Regions from separate parts of the Homo sapiens genome. Here regions 2, 3 and 4 are each linked to region 1. Evidence: promoter capture Hi-C in human tissues and cell types (Jung and others, 2019). All regions are on one chromosome and are shown on one strand. The core of a region is centred on a gene start or on the middle of the fragment in contact, and the rest is flanking DNA. Distances in the headings are between cores, read along the strand shown. Region 1 holds the start of CCDC167 (coiled-coil domain containing 167). Region 2 overlaps MDGA1 (MAM domain containing glycosylphosphatidylinositol anchor 1). Region 3 overlaps TBC1D22B (TBC1 domain family member 22B). Region 4 overlaps MDGA1 (MAM domain containing glycosylphosphatidylinositol anchor 1).

The links. The method cuts DNA at HindIII sites, captures the fragments that hold promoters and counts their contacts. A contact is called where the count stands out against the background at its distance.
Region 2: a fragment that was not itself captured here is called in contact with the fragment with the promoter of CCDC167 in region 1 in 6 of the 25 tissues and cell types used here (IMR-90 fibroblasts, dorsolateral prefrontal cortex, hippocampus and 3 more).
Region 3: a fragment that was not itself captured here is called in contact with the fragment with the promoter of CCDC167 in region 1 in 2 of the 25 tissues and cell types used here (IMR-90 fibroblasts and hippocampus).
Region 4: a fragment that was not itself captured here is called in contact with the fragment with the promoter of CCDC167 in region 1 in 1 of the 25 tissues and cell types used here (liver).

What each region holds. Positions count from the first base shown.
Region 1 is chr6:37,498,100-37,501,546 of GRCh38, reverse strand. It overlaps CCDC167 (coiled-coil domain containing 167), which reads left to right and starts at 1,654. Exons shown (of 4, transcript NM_138493.3): 1 at 1,654-1,725. The coding sequence starts at 1,684. RefSeq lists an enhancer at 1,462-1,661. The HindIII fragment of the contact is 4,936 bases long and covers 1-3,316 here.
Region 2 is chr6:37,670,110-37,673,556 of GRCh38, reverse strand. All of the region lies in intron 1 of MDGA1 (MAM domain containing glycosylphosphatidylinositol anchor 1), which reads left to right. Among named protein-coding and RNA genes, the nearest start is that of MDGA1, 26 kb to the left of the region's middle. The HindIII fragment of the contact is 4,624 bases long and covers 1-3,447 here.
Region 3 is chr6:37,326,301-37,329,747 of GRCh38, reverse strand. All of the region lies in intron 12 of TBC1D22B (TBC1 domain family member 22B), which reads right to left. Among named protein-coding and RNA genes, the nearest start is that of RNF8, 26 kb to the left of the region's middle. The HindIII fragment of the contact is 6,836 bases long and covers 1-3,447 here.
Region 4 is chr6:37,627,879-37,631,325 of GRCh38, reverse strand. MDGA1 (MAM domain containing glycosylphosphatidylinositol anchor 1) reads left to right here. Exons shown (of 17, transcript NM_153487.4): 17 at 1-647. Among named protein-coding and RNA genes, the nearest start is that of MDGA1, 68 kb to the left of the region's middle. The HindIII fragment of the contact is 8,275 bases long and covers 1-3,447 here.

The sequences.
Region 1 (3,447 bases), core at 405-2,904:
AAGTGTTTCTCCTGCTTCAGCCTCCCGAGTAGTTGGGTTTACAGGCGCCCACCACCACGCCCAGCTAATTTTTGTATTTTTAGTAGAGACGGGCTTTCACCACGTTGGCCAGGCTGGTCTCAAATTACTGACCTCGTGATCTGCCCAGCCTCCCAAAGTGCTGGGATTGAGAGGTAAAGCCAGCTGGACTTCCTGGGTTGAGTGGGGACTTGGAGAACTTTTCTGTCTAGCTAGACAATTGTAAACGCACCAATCAGCGTTCTGTGTCTAGCTAAAGGATTGTAAATGCGCCAATCAGCACTCTGTAAAAACCCACCAATCAGCGCTCTGTGTCTAGCTAAAGGATTATAATGCACCAATAAGCACTCTGTGTCTACCTAGGGATTGTAAATGCACCAGTCAGTGCTCTGTAAAAACGCACCAATCAGCGCTCTGTGTCTAGCTAAAGGATTGTAAATGCACCAATCTGCACTCTGTAAAAATGCACCAATCAGCACTCTGTGTCTAGCTAAAGGACTGTAAATGCACCAATCAGCACTCTGTAAAATGGACCAGTCAGTGCTCTGTAACAGGGGACAAATAAGGGAATAAAAGCTGGCCATCCCCCAGTCAACAGTGGCAACCCACTCAGGTCCCCTTCCATGATGTGGGAGCTTTGTTCTTTTGCTCTTCACAATAAATCCTGCTGCTGCTCACTCTCTGGGTCCGTGCTACCTTTAAGAGCTGTAACACTCACCGTGAAGTCAGTGAGACCAAGAACCCACCTGAAGGAACCAACTCCAGACACAGGATTACAGGCCTGAGCCACCGTGCCCGACTTTGTTTTTTTTTAATTAAATAGGCAAGAATACAAAATAACAGAGTGCATTACAGGAGGTAAAGGTACTTACTGTGAAACTTTGGTTTTGGTTTCATGGGTAACTGGGCCATGGTATAAAATACATTTTTTTATCGTAGGGTCACAGTCAAAACATTTCAAAGGCCGTGGGTCTATGGTGTACAGTATAGTACGATTACAACAATGTAAAATACTGTGTGTGAGGCCAAGCCTGGGAGGAATAAACAGAAGCAAAGAGGAACTGATAAAGTTGGTAGAATAAAGGATGCTGCTTCTCAGTTATATGTTTTCTGTGATGTTTGTAGGTTGTTCTTACAATAAAACAAACCAAAAAAAAAAAAAAAAAGAAGTCAAGACACAAAGGAGAAATAACAATAGAGGGCCATTATCAGATTCCATTGGCCGAGAAGCTCAAGGCTCCAGCACCGGCCTTGAAGGATGGACAGACTTTGAATGGGGGGCGTGGCCTAAACAGGGACGGGGTTGTTGCTGAAACACAAAACACACTGAAAGAGAACATGGGGTTAAAAAAGGCTCTCAGTGATGCAAAGCGGCTTAAAACTGGGGAAGAAAGGGGCAGGTCTACTCCCGGGCTGTACATTCTGCCTCCCTGTACCGACTTTTCCACCCTCCACCCATCTAGGCTGAGGTCTCAAGCTAGAGGTTGCCCCTCATAAACATGTCCGCACCAAGCCGGCCGCGCCCCTCAACAAGATGGCGACGGCAGCAGCCCCACCTCCCGCTGACTCGGTGGCCAATGAGGGAGAAGCACGAAGACTTGAGCATGCGCACATAGCGACTTGGTGGGCGCGTCCAGTGATGACTGGGGGATCCCGGCAAGTAACATGACTAAAAAGAAGCGGGAGAATCTGGGCGTCGCTCTAGAGGTGAGGGGAAAAGTGGGGGTTGGGCCACCTCGTTAGTTGCCTTCTCCTGGCCGCGGGATAAGGGATAGGCTGGGCTATAGATAGGAGGAGGAGCCAAGCGTAGGATGAGAGGGCGACGCGGTTTGGGGAGAGGGACGGGAGGGGTGAGAAGGCCCACGGGGTTCCCGGAGGACAGGGAGCCCGAGGAGGTGCCGGATGGGCGAACCAGACTCTCTGGAGAGGGCATCTCCAGAGAGGAAGAGACATGGAAGTGAAGGGGAGCCCCAAAGACGGCCTGGCATAGAAGTGAGGGAACTCAAAGCGGGGGACACAGAACAAAAGGGATGGGTACAGAGGTGAGGGAGACCCCAGAGAAATAGGGACCTGTAGAATCTAAGGAGAACTCCCAAAGGGCTAGGACTCAAAGATGAGGGAGCCCATTCTGGTGTATATTATTAATGGTTTAAATATCCTCTAAAAGGGGAAATTTTTCCTCCGGAGTATGGAAGCTTGTACCTTCAAAATTACTTTGGGAATATGTAAAGAGAATTCTGGAATTGGTGATGTCACTGAATGGCTTAAAAATAATTTGCTGCATATAGAAGGGAAAGAAAACATACATACTGAGCAACCGCTATGTGCTACTTTCATTGCATTGTTAATCCTCACTGCAAGCCTGTGAGGTTTGTACAGATGAGGAAATTGAGGTTCCAGGTGGAACCCAGGCTGAGATGGTGGAAGTGGTGGAGCCTGGGAATCAAGCACAGGTGGTCTTCCTGGAAATTCATCTTGCTTCCCCTGTTTTCCTTCCCTTAGGGCATCCTCCCGGAGGTTGCAGGAGAGGTACAGGGTCATAGTCTTCTTCAGGCTTACTAGTGAGTTCAGTGATTCTCAAACTTTAGCATGCATAGAGTCACAGGGCTTGTTAAAAATGGAGAGTTGAACTCTTCCCACACCCCGAGTAATTCAGTAGGACTTTGATGTGCATTCTTAACAAGGAATCTGCTTTTTTTTTTTTAAGACAGAGTCTCGCTCTGTTGTCCAGGCTGAAGTGCAGTGGCGTGATCTCGGCTCACTGTAAACTCTGCCTTCTGGGTTCAAGCGATTCTCGTGCCTCAGCCTCCCGAGTAGCTGGGATTACAGGCACGTGCCACCATGCCTGGCTAATTTTTGTATTTTTGTAGAGACGGGGTTTCACCGTGTTGGCCAGGCTGGTCTTGAACTCTTGACCTCAAGTGATCTGCCCGCCCGCCTTAGCCTCCCAAAGTGCTGGGATTACAGGCATGAGCCACCACAGCCGGCCAGAATCTGCATTTTTTTTTTTTTTACAAGCCACACACACCCCATGGTGATGTGGGTAGTTTTAGTGGCATCCCTTGAGAAATATTGGCCCACTTGGTAGGAAAAAGGTTGATGGAAATGTGAAGAGGATGGTTTATGAGTGGTGACTGAGATGGTACTTTGTGGCGGGAAGAACATAGACTTTGTAACCTGCATTAGGGTACAATAAGCTGCAGTAACAGAGAAACTCCAAAACTCAGTGGCTTCAAGAACAAGAAAGTGAGTTTTTTTCTAACAGGCTAGAGCAAGGGGCAGGAGATGTCTGCAAATGGTCAGATAGTAACTATTTTAGAAGAGACATGGTCTCTTCTAGAGAGCCAAATGGTCTGGGTTGCAACTACAGTTGATCCTCATTATTCACAGATTCCACATTTGCGAATTTCCCTAATGGCTAAAATGTAT
Region 2 (3,447 bases), core at 408-2,907, 170 kb before region 1:
AGTCTGTAGAGAGGCTTGGAACATCATCCCTGGCAGAAGGAGGCCCAGGCGGAGCAGGCCAGGTGCCTGCCCAGGAAAGCCTCCTCCCAGGCCCCCGACCGCCATTCTCTGAGCAGCTAATTAAAAGAGAAAAGCCTGTTAATATTTCAGCACTATTAACTCCACTAAATTATTAAGTGTTCATTTGCATTACATGCATAAAAGGATCAATAAACACTTGCATACCAGGATCTGGGAGGGCGAGAGGTGTCACGGCGAGGGAGGGACGGTTTCTGAGGATGCTGCACAGCATCGGTCCCACCAGGAATGTGGAGGCTCCGTGCTGAGCTGTGAGCCCTGCACTGGGCTAGGCACTTGCGAAGTGGAAATGCATGGCGGTTAGCATGAAAGACGGAGAGTCAGACAGACTCCAGACCAATGGGGTGTCCTTGGGTAACTTATATAACCTCGCTGAACCTCAGCTTCCTCATCTGAAAAGTCCGAACCATAGTAGGCTTGTTAGGAGCAATAAATATGATAAAAGATATAAAGCACTGAATATATTGCTGGCAGAGTAAATGTCAATAAAGGGTAGCTATTGCAGTTAATGTTATATTATGGGGATGGGGGGTGGGGGGAGACCTGAGACAGCACTAGTCTCTAGTTCACAGCAATCCCTCCCTGCTCCCTCTCTGCCTCTCAGTGGGCCTTTATAAGCATCGTTCTTATTCAGCTTTTCTAGCTACTGCTTCCCTAGTGCAGAGCCTGAGTGCCACAGCTCTCTGTTACCTCAGAACCAAGCTTAGCACCTCATACTGATAAGGGCTTGTTGAATGACTGTCTGATGGAAGCCAGGACCAGAACACAGATCCCAATTCTGTACCACTCCATCCAGAACACTCAGTGATGCTTCTGGGAGGTGGCTGGGGTGGTGGCACCTGCTCTGTCATCTGTGGGCAGATAGAACCAACTCTGGGCGGGGAATTTTGCAGCCACTCCTTCTCCTTTTGTCTCCTTGCCCCTTCCTCACCCTGTTCTTTGGTCATTTCCCAGCCTGCAGACTCTTTCCCTGAAGGAGCCAGAAGCAGGAAGAGGGCAACAGTCCTCTTCATTGATTATTGGCTGAGCTTTTGTTTTTTTGATAGGGGTCTTGCTCTGTCGCCCAGGCTGGAGTGCAGTGTGCAATCATGGCTCACTGCAGCCTCGATCTCCTGAGCTCAAGCAATCCTCCCTCTTAGCTAGGATTACAGGCATGTGGCACCATGCCCAGCTCATTAAAATTTTTTTTTTTTAGAGATGGGGTCTTGCTATGATGCCCAGGCTGGTCTTGAACCCCTAGCCTCAGGCAATTCTCCTGCCTCAGCTTCCCAAAATGTTGGGATTACAAGCATGAGGCACTGTGCCCGGCCTGAAGGAACTTTTTTTTTTTCTTTTTTTTAGATGGAGTCTCACTCTGTCACCCAGGTTGGAGTGCAGTGATATGATCTCAGCTCACTGCAGTCTCCACCTCCTGAGCTCAAGCCATTCTCCCACCTCAGCCTCCCGAGTAACTGGGAACACAGGTGTGCACCACCATGCTGGCTAAGTTTTTATATTTTTGGTAGAGATGGGGTTTCACCATGTTGCCCAGGCTGGTCTCGAACTCCTGAGCTCAAGTGATCCTCCTACGTTGGCCTCCCAAAGTGCTGGGATTATAGGCCTGAAGGTGCTTTTAATCAAGGTTTTCCATTTGTCTTGCTGTCTGTCTTGTTTGGCCCTCACCCTAGTGTTGTATCCACATGCATTTTATAGCACCCCTACCTGTGGCTATAGCAGCTGGGCATGGATTCTCTTATGGGGGATGGGGGTCTTTGATGAAATTCCCCCATTACAGTGAGAATTCTCTTTGGACCCTTAGTTGGCAGGTTGGAGTTTGTCTTAGTCTGACTCCCTGAGAGTTTGTGGCTTCCTCACTGGGCCTACTGGGTGCTGGAAGCCCCTACCCATAACTATACATTTTGGGTGTATAATTTTTGGGGAGGAAAAGAGTAAGCTGATAGGCCAGCAGCATTCTGCCTCGGCTGTGCTCATTAGGATGCTGCCCCAAGGGTGACATGTCTCAGGCCACTTGGCTGTTCTTAACTAAGGGACTGGGGAGGGGCATGTTAACCCCTCAGCTGTCAGTTTTGTATTAAGCTTTTCTCCACTAATTTTACAGAACATTGCTGTCTCTCAGGATGTTGTGCTCTGCGAAGAAGGGGGTTTATGGCCAATACGTTTAGAAAGCACTGAGTTAAACCAAGTTACACAGATGTGTTTACTGCAGGACTTTTCAGAGCCTTCAATAATATACTTTGTGTGCTAAGTCTTTCTCAGAGAGGGCGAGAGAAAGAACATGCAGCATCCTTAATTGACAGTGAAAATCGTCTGTGATGGACTATCAGTGAACACTCTGTGGCACACAGGTTGGCAGAGGCTGTTTTCCTTTTCCATGGGGTTTTGTTGATAGAAATCAGGAGAGTAAAATAGGAAAGTGTCATAGACCAGAGGCAAGGAAGCACACTTGGTTCTGAAATGCTGTTCAGTTTTCTATCCACTAATATGGTGTCAAGCAAAGATGATCAAATCCAGCCATGCCTCTGAAATTCCTGGGGACAATGAACAGAGTCCCAAGTTAGCAGGTGGAAGGCCTGGGTTTGAGTCTCGGCTGTGCTGCTGTCTCAGTGAGTGACTTGGACAAGACGGTTCCTCTTCCAGGCATTGGTCTCCTTCTCTGCCAATGGAGCTAAATATGACTTTCCCTTTCTGCTTCGCAGAACTGAGGCAAGGAGCTTGGAAATATACAGTGGACCCCAGGAAGGTACCAACCCTCATCATCTGTGACAGAGAAGGCAGGGTCCTTTCATGCAAACGGCTTGCAGGCTGCAGGGGATGTGAATTCTTGAGAGGAGTGCAGGATCATTTATAGAATAATAATGCTGGCTGACATTTTTAGATTGCATACTGCGTACCAGGCACTGTTTTAAACACTTTACATGAGTTTCTTTATTTATTCCTCACAACAACCCCATTTTGCAAATGAGAAAACTAAGGCTTAAGTAACTTGCTGAAAGCCACACAGCCAAGTGCACTAGTACCATGAGAAGGGGGATGCTCGGGGAAGGGCTCCAGCCCTTCCCACTTTCCATCCCCTCTGAAGCCCTGCACAGCCCTCAGCATGAATTTTGAACATGTTCATGAAACATCCCTACCCGTTTAATGTCTGCTTTGAGCATTTCCACCCCTGGGTTGCATGTGTACGGGTGCATAGCAGGTGGTCCCCTTTCTCTATCTCTTGCTCCTATTTCATCATCTTGGGAGCTGTCATTTATGGAGACAGCACATACTATTTGGTCAGGTGTTTTACATATATTGCATTAGCCCCTCATTAGCAGCCCTGGGAGAAGGCATCATTGTTCTTATTTTATAAATGAAGAGGCTGAGGCTCAG
Region 3 (3,447 bases), core at 407-2,906, 170 kb after region 1:
TGTGTTGAAGATGGCAGAGTAATAAGACAAATCAGAGTCCCTAACACTCCAAAACCATAATGTTAGCCCTGGACTGCTTACACTTAGACTGTTAGTTGAAGGGAAATAAACAACTCTCTTGTTTTAAGCCACTGTTATTTTGAGGTCTTGGTTACAGTAGACAAGTTTATATCATCTTAACAAATACATACCATATCTATCAAAATAAGAAATGCACATGGTCTTTCATCCAGCAACTCTGCTTCTAACTCTCTATCCTAGGGAAATAGTCACACTACTGTGTGTACAAAGGTATTCACTGCATCATTGCTTCAAATAGTGGAGAAAGGATACTAGAAAAGCGTCTGGCAATATGGGAATGGTGAGATAAACCATGGATTATCTGCATCATGAGATGCAAGGCAGCACTTGAAACAAGCGAAGCCGGTCTACATGTATCAGTATATGAAGATAAAGAAGACATTTTGGAAAGGATAAAAAAGGCAGTTGCAGAACAATATTTACAGTATGATCCCACTTAGGTAAAAGAAAAAACACAACAATATATTTGTATATGTACATGTACACATAAACATTTTAGAGAAGTGGGAAACTGTTCACAGTGGTTACCCTTTGGGAGGGAAGCCTTTCACTTTTCTCTCATTATATTTATGTATCTTATAAAATATTTGTGTATTATTGTGTTATGAAATAACTTTTTTTTTTAGTAATAACTACTCTGGGCTGGGCGCAGTGGCTCATGCCTGTAATCCCAGCACTTTGGGAGGCCGAAGTGGGCCAATCACTTGAGGTAAGGAGTTTGAGACCAGCCTGGCCAACATGGTGAAACCCCGTCTCTACTAAAAATACAAAAATTAGCCAGGCATTGTGGTGGCCGCCTGTAGTCCCAGCTACTTGGGAGGCTGAGGCAGGAGAACTGCTTCAATCTGGGAGGCGGAGGTTGCAGTGAGCCGAGATCACGCCATTACACTCCAGCCTGGGTGAAGCTACTCTGTGGAAATTTTGTTTACTAAAAAGTAAAAAAAAAACAGAAAATAAATTACCCATAACTTCACGATCAAGAGGAAGCCATTTTAAAACATTTTGGCATATTTCCTTCCAGTCCTTTTCCTACATATTTTACATACTTGAAATATTTTCTCTACATAATTTTGAATCTATGCAACATTTACCGTAAGCATTTCCTCTAATATTAAAAATTCCTTGTAGATATTTTCAATATCCAAAGAATTTTCCATGATGTAAGATGTACCAGAATTTACATCCTCCTGTTTTGAGCATTTAATTATTTCTGGTTTTTCACTATAAAAAATTATAATGAACATCTTTATGCACAAAGCCTTATCTTGGATTATTTCCCTAAGCCAAATTCCTAGAAATGAAATTACTATTTCAAAGGGCATAAACATTTTATTTTTATCTATCTATCTATTTATTTATTTAGAGACAGAGTCTTGCTCTATTGCCCAGGCTGGAACGCAGTGGCACAATCTCAGTTCACCGCAACCTCCGCCTCCCAGGTTCAAGCGATTCTCCTGCCTCAGCCTCCCGAGTAGCTGGGATTAGCCATCACACTTGGCTAATTTTTGTATTTTTAGTAGAGATGGGGTTTCACCATGTTGGCCAGGCTGGTCTCGAACTCCTGACCTCAGGTGATCCGCCCGCCTCAGCCTCCCAAAGTGCTGGGATTACAGGCATGAGCTACCGCGCCTGGCCCACCACAAACATTTTAAAGGTCTTTAACATTCAACCAGAAAATATATTCCAGAAAAATGCCCATTTCCCTAGATCTCTACCAGCACTAAATATTCTCATTTAAAAAAAAAACAAACTTTGCTAATGCAAAGTCTTCCCTTTGATCCCCAAGCCCAAGAACAGAACTCAAAGCCGTCATGATGGTGGTGAACCCCCGGAGGAGTGCACATCCCAAGGTCCCCACTCTCCCCTCCATGGTTGCTGGCATCTGCTCTCTCCAACCCTCCAGGCAAACCCCTCCAGTCACATGATTACGGAAATTCACTCAACCAGACCAGTTATTCAACCAGTTATTGATATTCACTCAAGCCAGCAGATGCTCTGCTTTTAAAAACTCTGCCTTTAGCTGATCGGAACATCTTTGGAATATTCCCCTCTCACAGGAGTAATTCCCTCTTGGTTCTATTCTGGCCTCAGTCCTGTCTGCCTCAAAGCTTTTTTTGTTTGTTTTGTTTGAAAGAGAACCATCATTTCTATCTCAACTTATTTTTTTTTTTTTTTTTTTTTTTTTTTTTGAGTCGGAGTCTGGCTCTGTCGCCCAGGCTGGAGTGCAGTGGCACGATCTCGGCTCACTGCAAGCTCCGCCTCCCGGGTTCACGCCATTCTCCTGCCTCAGCCTCCCGAGCAGCTGGGACTACAGGCGCCCACCACCACGCCCGGCTAATTTTTTGCATTTTTAGTAGAGACGGGGTTTCACCGTGTTAGCCAGGATGGTCTCGATCTCCTGACCTCGTGATCCGCCCGCCTCGGCCTCCCAAAGTGCTGGGATTACAGGCGCGAGCCACCGCGCCCGGCCCTATCTCAACTTATTTTTTAAAATGTTGACCTTGGACCATACTACATGCCCCCACCCCCATGCCACCATGTACTCCCTGGCCTCTGGCCCCTTTTACCCATCTCTGCTGCTTCCTACCTCCTTCCCGCACCATGTCCCTATCCCACAACAACTGGAAAAGGTGTTGCCTCTTTTTGCTAACATTCTCCTCAGGTAGACCACTTGTATCCTAAGTTAGGCAGGCTCTCTTTATAATGGTCTCAGTCTTTTCTGTACCTTAGACTCTTGGGCTGTCTGGTGAACCCCATCAATCTCCTCAGAATAATGGTTTTAAATATTAATACATAAAATAAAATGCATACTAATCAATTTTTTTAAAATTTGTGATATTCACCTCTGTGTGGTAAGATTTCTTTTTCTGTTTTTTTTTGAGACGTAGTCTCGCTCCGTCACCCAGGCTGGAGTGCAGTGGCATGATCTTGGCTCACCACCACCTCCACCTCCCAGGTTCAAGCAATTCTACTGCCTCAGCCTCCTGAGTAGCTGGGACTACAGGCATGAGCCACCATGCCTGGTTAATTGTTTTTTATTTTTAGTAGAGACGGGGTTTCACCGTTAAGCCAGGATGATCTCAATCTCCTGACCTCGGGATCTGCCCACCTCGGCCTCCCAAAGTGCTGGGATTACAGGCGTGAGCCACTGTGCCCAGCCTAAGATTTCTTACTGGAATTTTCTAAATTTTTCTATGATGGTTACATACACTTGCAAACTGATAACAAACAAGAACAGCCAACAAAGGACATAGCTCTCTAGAAGAGAATACTTTTTTTTTTTTTTTTTTGAGGCGCAGTCTCACTCTGTCACCAGGCTGGAGTGCAGCAGCAATCTTGGCTCACTGCAACCTCCAACTCCCAGGT
Region 4 (3,447 bases), core at 411-2,910, 130 kb before region 1:
GCACAGGAAGAGAAATCCGCTCAAGCTCACTCAAGTACAGGTGCATTATTGTGAGGACAAACACAGTGAGGGGGATGGGCACTCAGAAATCCAAACAGGAGTTGCAACAGGGATGGTTTTCCTGAACCAGATGGGCATTTTGGATTCAAGGTAGCTCTAGGATCATCATCTACAGAAGTTTCTGGTGCTTCTGTATTCTTCTGGTGCTTCTGTATTCTACCTGTGGTAGAATAAAGATGGCTGCAAATCCCATGTTATCCTTCCTGTAGAGAGGCAGAGTCTAATTCCCTTCCTCTTGAATCTGGGTTGCTCTTAGTGCCTTGTTTGTGCAATAGAATGTGACATGCTGAGTTGAAGATGCCTTGGAGCTTCAGCTCAGGCCTCTTGGAACGTTCTCTCTGGAAGCCCTGAACTGCCACCTAGGATGTCCTCTGAGTTGCTCTGAGACCGTCATGCTGGAGGGGCTCTGGCTGACCATCCCAGCTGAGTCCAGCCTTCCAGCCATCTCCACCAAAGCACCAGAAGATATGGGAGTGCAGCTGCCTCAGACCTTCCAGACCAGCCTAACTGCCACCTGAATTGCTCGGCCAAGCTCTGTCCAAATTCCTGACCCATCGTCATGGGATATAATAAAATAGTTGTTTTAAGCCCCTGCGGTTGGGAGTAGTTTTTGACAACAGCAATAGATGACCACCCTGGCATGACTCAGTCACTCCCCAGCATCTGCTGCTTTTTGTCCATGCAGTTCCTCTCCTGAGTCATGGTGTCTGCTTCCTCATAACTTCAGCTTTCCAGGCATCATGACCTCTCCAGCTCAACTCTCCTTCATGGCCTTCCGGTAGCAGCTGCCAGCATTCACTGACTCAGCCGCTCAGGATAATGGGCTGATTGGACAGGCCCCCATTTCAGGTCTAGCCACACATACATCATTGGGCAACCTGTGGGTTGGCTGCCCTTGAGTCAGATGCCACCCTGATCCAACCAGCTGGGCTGGAGGAAGGGGTCATGGACATGAAACAAGGCTACCTGGGGGCTGCCATTTCTAGGCAGTTTGTGGGTGGACCCACTTAGGAGGGGCAGGAGGCTGGCAGGCACCGAAAACACACCTCCTTGCATCTTCCCTCTTTCTCCCCTCCTCTAGTGACCATTCATTCCCAGGGGCACAGTAATGCAGTGTATGTACCATGAAAGTCCTCCAAGTGGCCCTGTCCAAGGGCAGGTCCCATTGCAAACTGTACAGGTAGGTCAGGTAACTTACAGCAACCGAGTCCTCTGTTATCAGGACTTTGACATATATATTGTTAAAGAACATAGCCAATTTACTTAGCTTATTTTTATTTATTTTTTAAGACAAGGTCTCACTCTGTCACCCAGGCTGGATTGCAATGACACAATCTTGGCTCACTGAAACCCCCACCTCCCAGGTTCAAGTGATTCTCATGCCTCAGCCTCCCAAGTAGCTGGGATTATAGTCATGTGCCACCATACCCAGCTAATTTCTGTATTTTTAGTAGAGGTGGGTCTTCACCATGTTGGCCAGGCTGGTCTCAAACTCCTGGCCTCAAGTGATCCACCCGCCTCAGCCTCCCAAAGTGTTGCAATTACAGGCGTGGGCCACCGCACCCAGCCAGGACTCTAATATTTTTATTTTCATATCACAGATGAGCAAAGTGAGGCTCAGAAAGGTGATGTGGTTACCCTAGCTCAGAAAATTCAGGAGAGGAAGAACCCAGAGGGAGATCTAGGTTTTTGACTTCTGGTGCGATGTGCGTTCACATCAGCCAGAGTCCCTCCTCTTCTTCCTCTCCTTGGAGATCACTCTGCTTTTCCCACCAGCTCTTCCCCAGGGGCTGGGAGAAGCAAGGCCTTTCCCTGTGAGGCTCGGGCTCCAGTCCTCTGCTTCAGATGGAGACCGTCCCTGTTCCTGCTTTTCTATTTCTAGCTTTTTGCATGTCCTTTATTGAAAGCTACTGTAACACCTTTTCAGAAAAGGGTTGGGTATAAATAAACACAAGAAAAAAGTCGAAACTCTCCTCCTTGAAGTCACCCCAAACCTGGGTGGAGGCATCCTTCCATACTGCTTCTTGAACCCCCGCTCCCAAATTCATCTTTCCTGGCCGTGCGTGCCCAGCGTGTTTCCTGTTCTGAGGTCCACTTGGCAGGGCCCCCGAATGCAAATCCCACCACCACATCCATCGCCCTGTCTTGTTAGCTGTTTGGCCTTCTCTAAAGATGTTTTGAATTGCCCATTTTTCTCAGGTCCCCTGGGGCCAGCCACAGTTCAGCAGAGTAGACTCAGCACCCTGTGAGTCCTCATTCCATCTATATACGCCACCCTCCATAAGCAGAGTCCCTCTCTGTCACCCCCCGTGCCGTTCCCCCAGAACCACCCGCCAGTTCACTCTCATCTGAGAGGCGGTGAGAAATAGAGTAAAACATGAGTCAGAGAGGCTGAGAGTGCCGAACGTCCACACAGTGGGAGTCTGTGCTGCCATTTAAAGATGTCCATAATATATTGTCGAGAGAGAATGGCAGATTAGAAAGCGCATGCCTGTTACTATCTTTTTTATGTAATAACATCTGTGTATATATGAGCATATGCATTTTTTTTTTGTCCGAAAGACTATTCACTGGAATGTGAATAGTAGTTATCTCAGCAGTGAAATTTCAGATGCTTCTGACTCACATCTTTAGGCTTTCTGTATTGTCTGAATATTTTTTCATGAACATATAATTTTTTTAATAACCAGGGGAAAAAATCTATTTTCTCGAGAAAATAAAAGCCAGAAGTCATCAAGGACTATAGATTAGAAATAAAGGTCACTTTCTGTTCTTAGCATTATTTTTATAACTGTACATCACAGAGTCTGGGAAAGGGCTTTGAACTTGAAATCTTTTCCTGCTGATTTATTCAAATAAAAATGCTCATGCAGTGGGGGAGGCGAGGGGGAAGAATTGGGTTGAGTTTACCAGGGGCAAGGCAGAGGGGATGTCGAGCCAAGCTTTCAATAACAGAAATTCCAAAGAGAAGAACACGACCTCCAGCAACAAACACTAACATTTAGTGTTATATCTGATGCCCATGCAGTGTGTGCGACTGTGTGTGCACAAGTGTGCATGTATGCTTGCACACATGTGAGTGTATGTACATGCCCACACATGTAAGCCTGCGGCAGCCTTGACCATATGATGAATTATGAAGCAAGTGGCTAATTGAGATGCCCAGGGTCAGTGGTTGCTGCAGTCAGAGTGGGAAGGGCCCAAGAAAGTATAAAAACTACAGCTCCTCTGCCTGCCCAACTCCTCACCTTCCTCCTCAGCCTCTCTTGTCCTCACCCAGACTCAGGGCCCAGGAGGGGAAACTGAGGCATAGAGCAAGGGAAGGAGTGGGAAAGAGGACCTGGAGAGCCAGAACTCCTGTGTTCTATCACTCTATCTAAGGCCTCC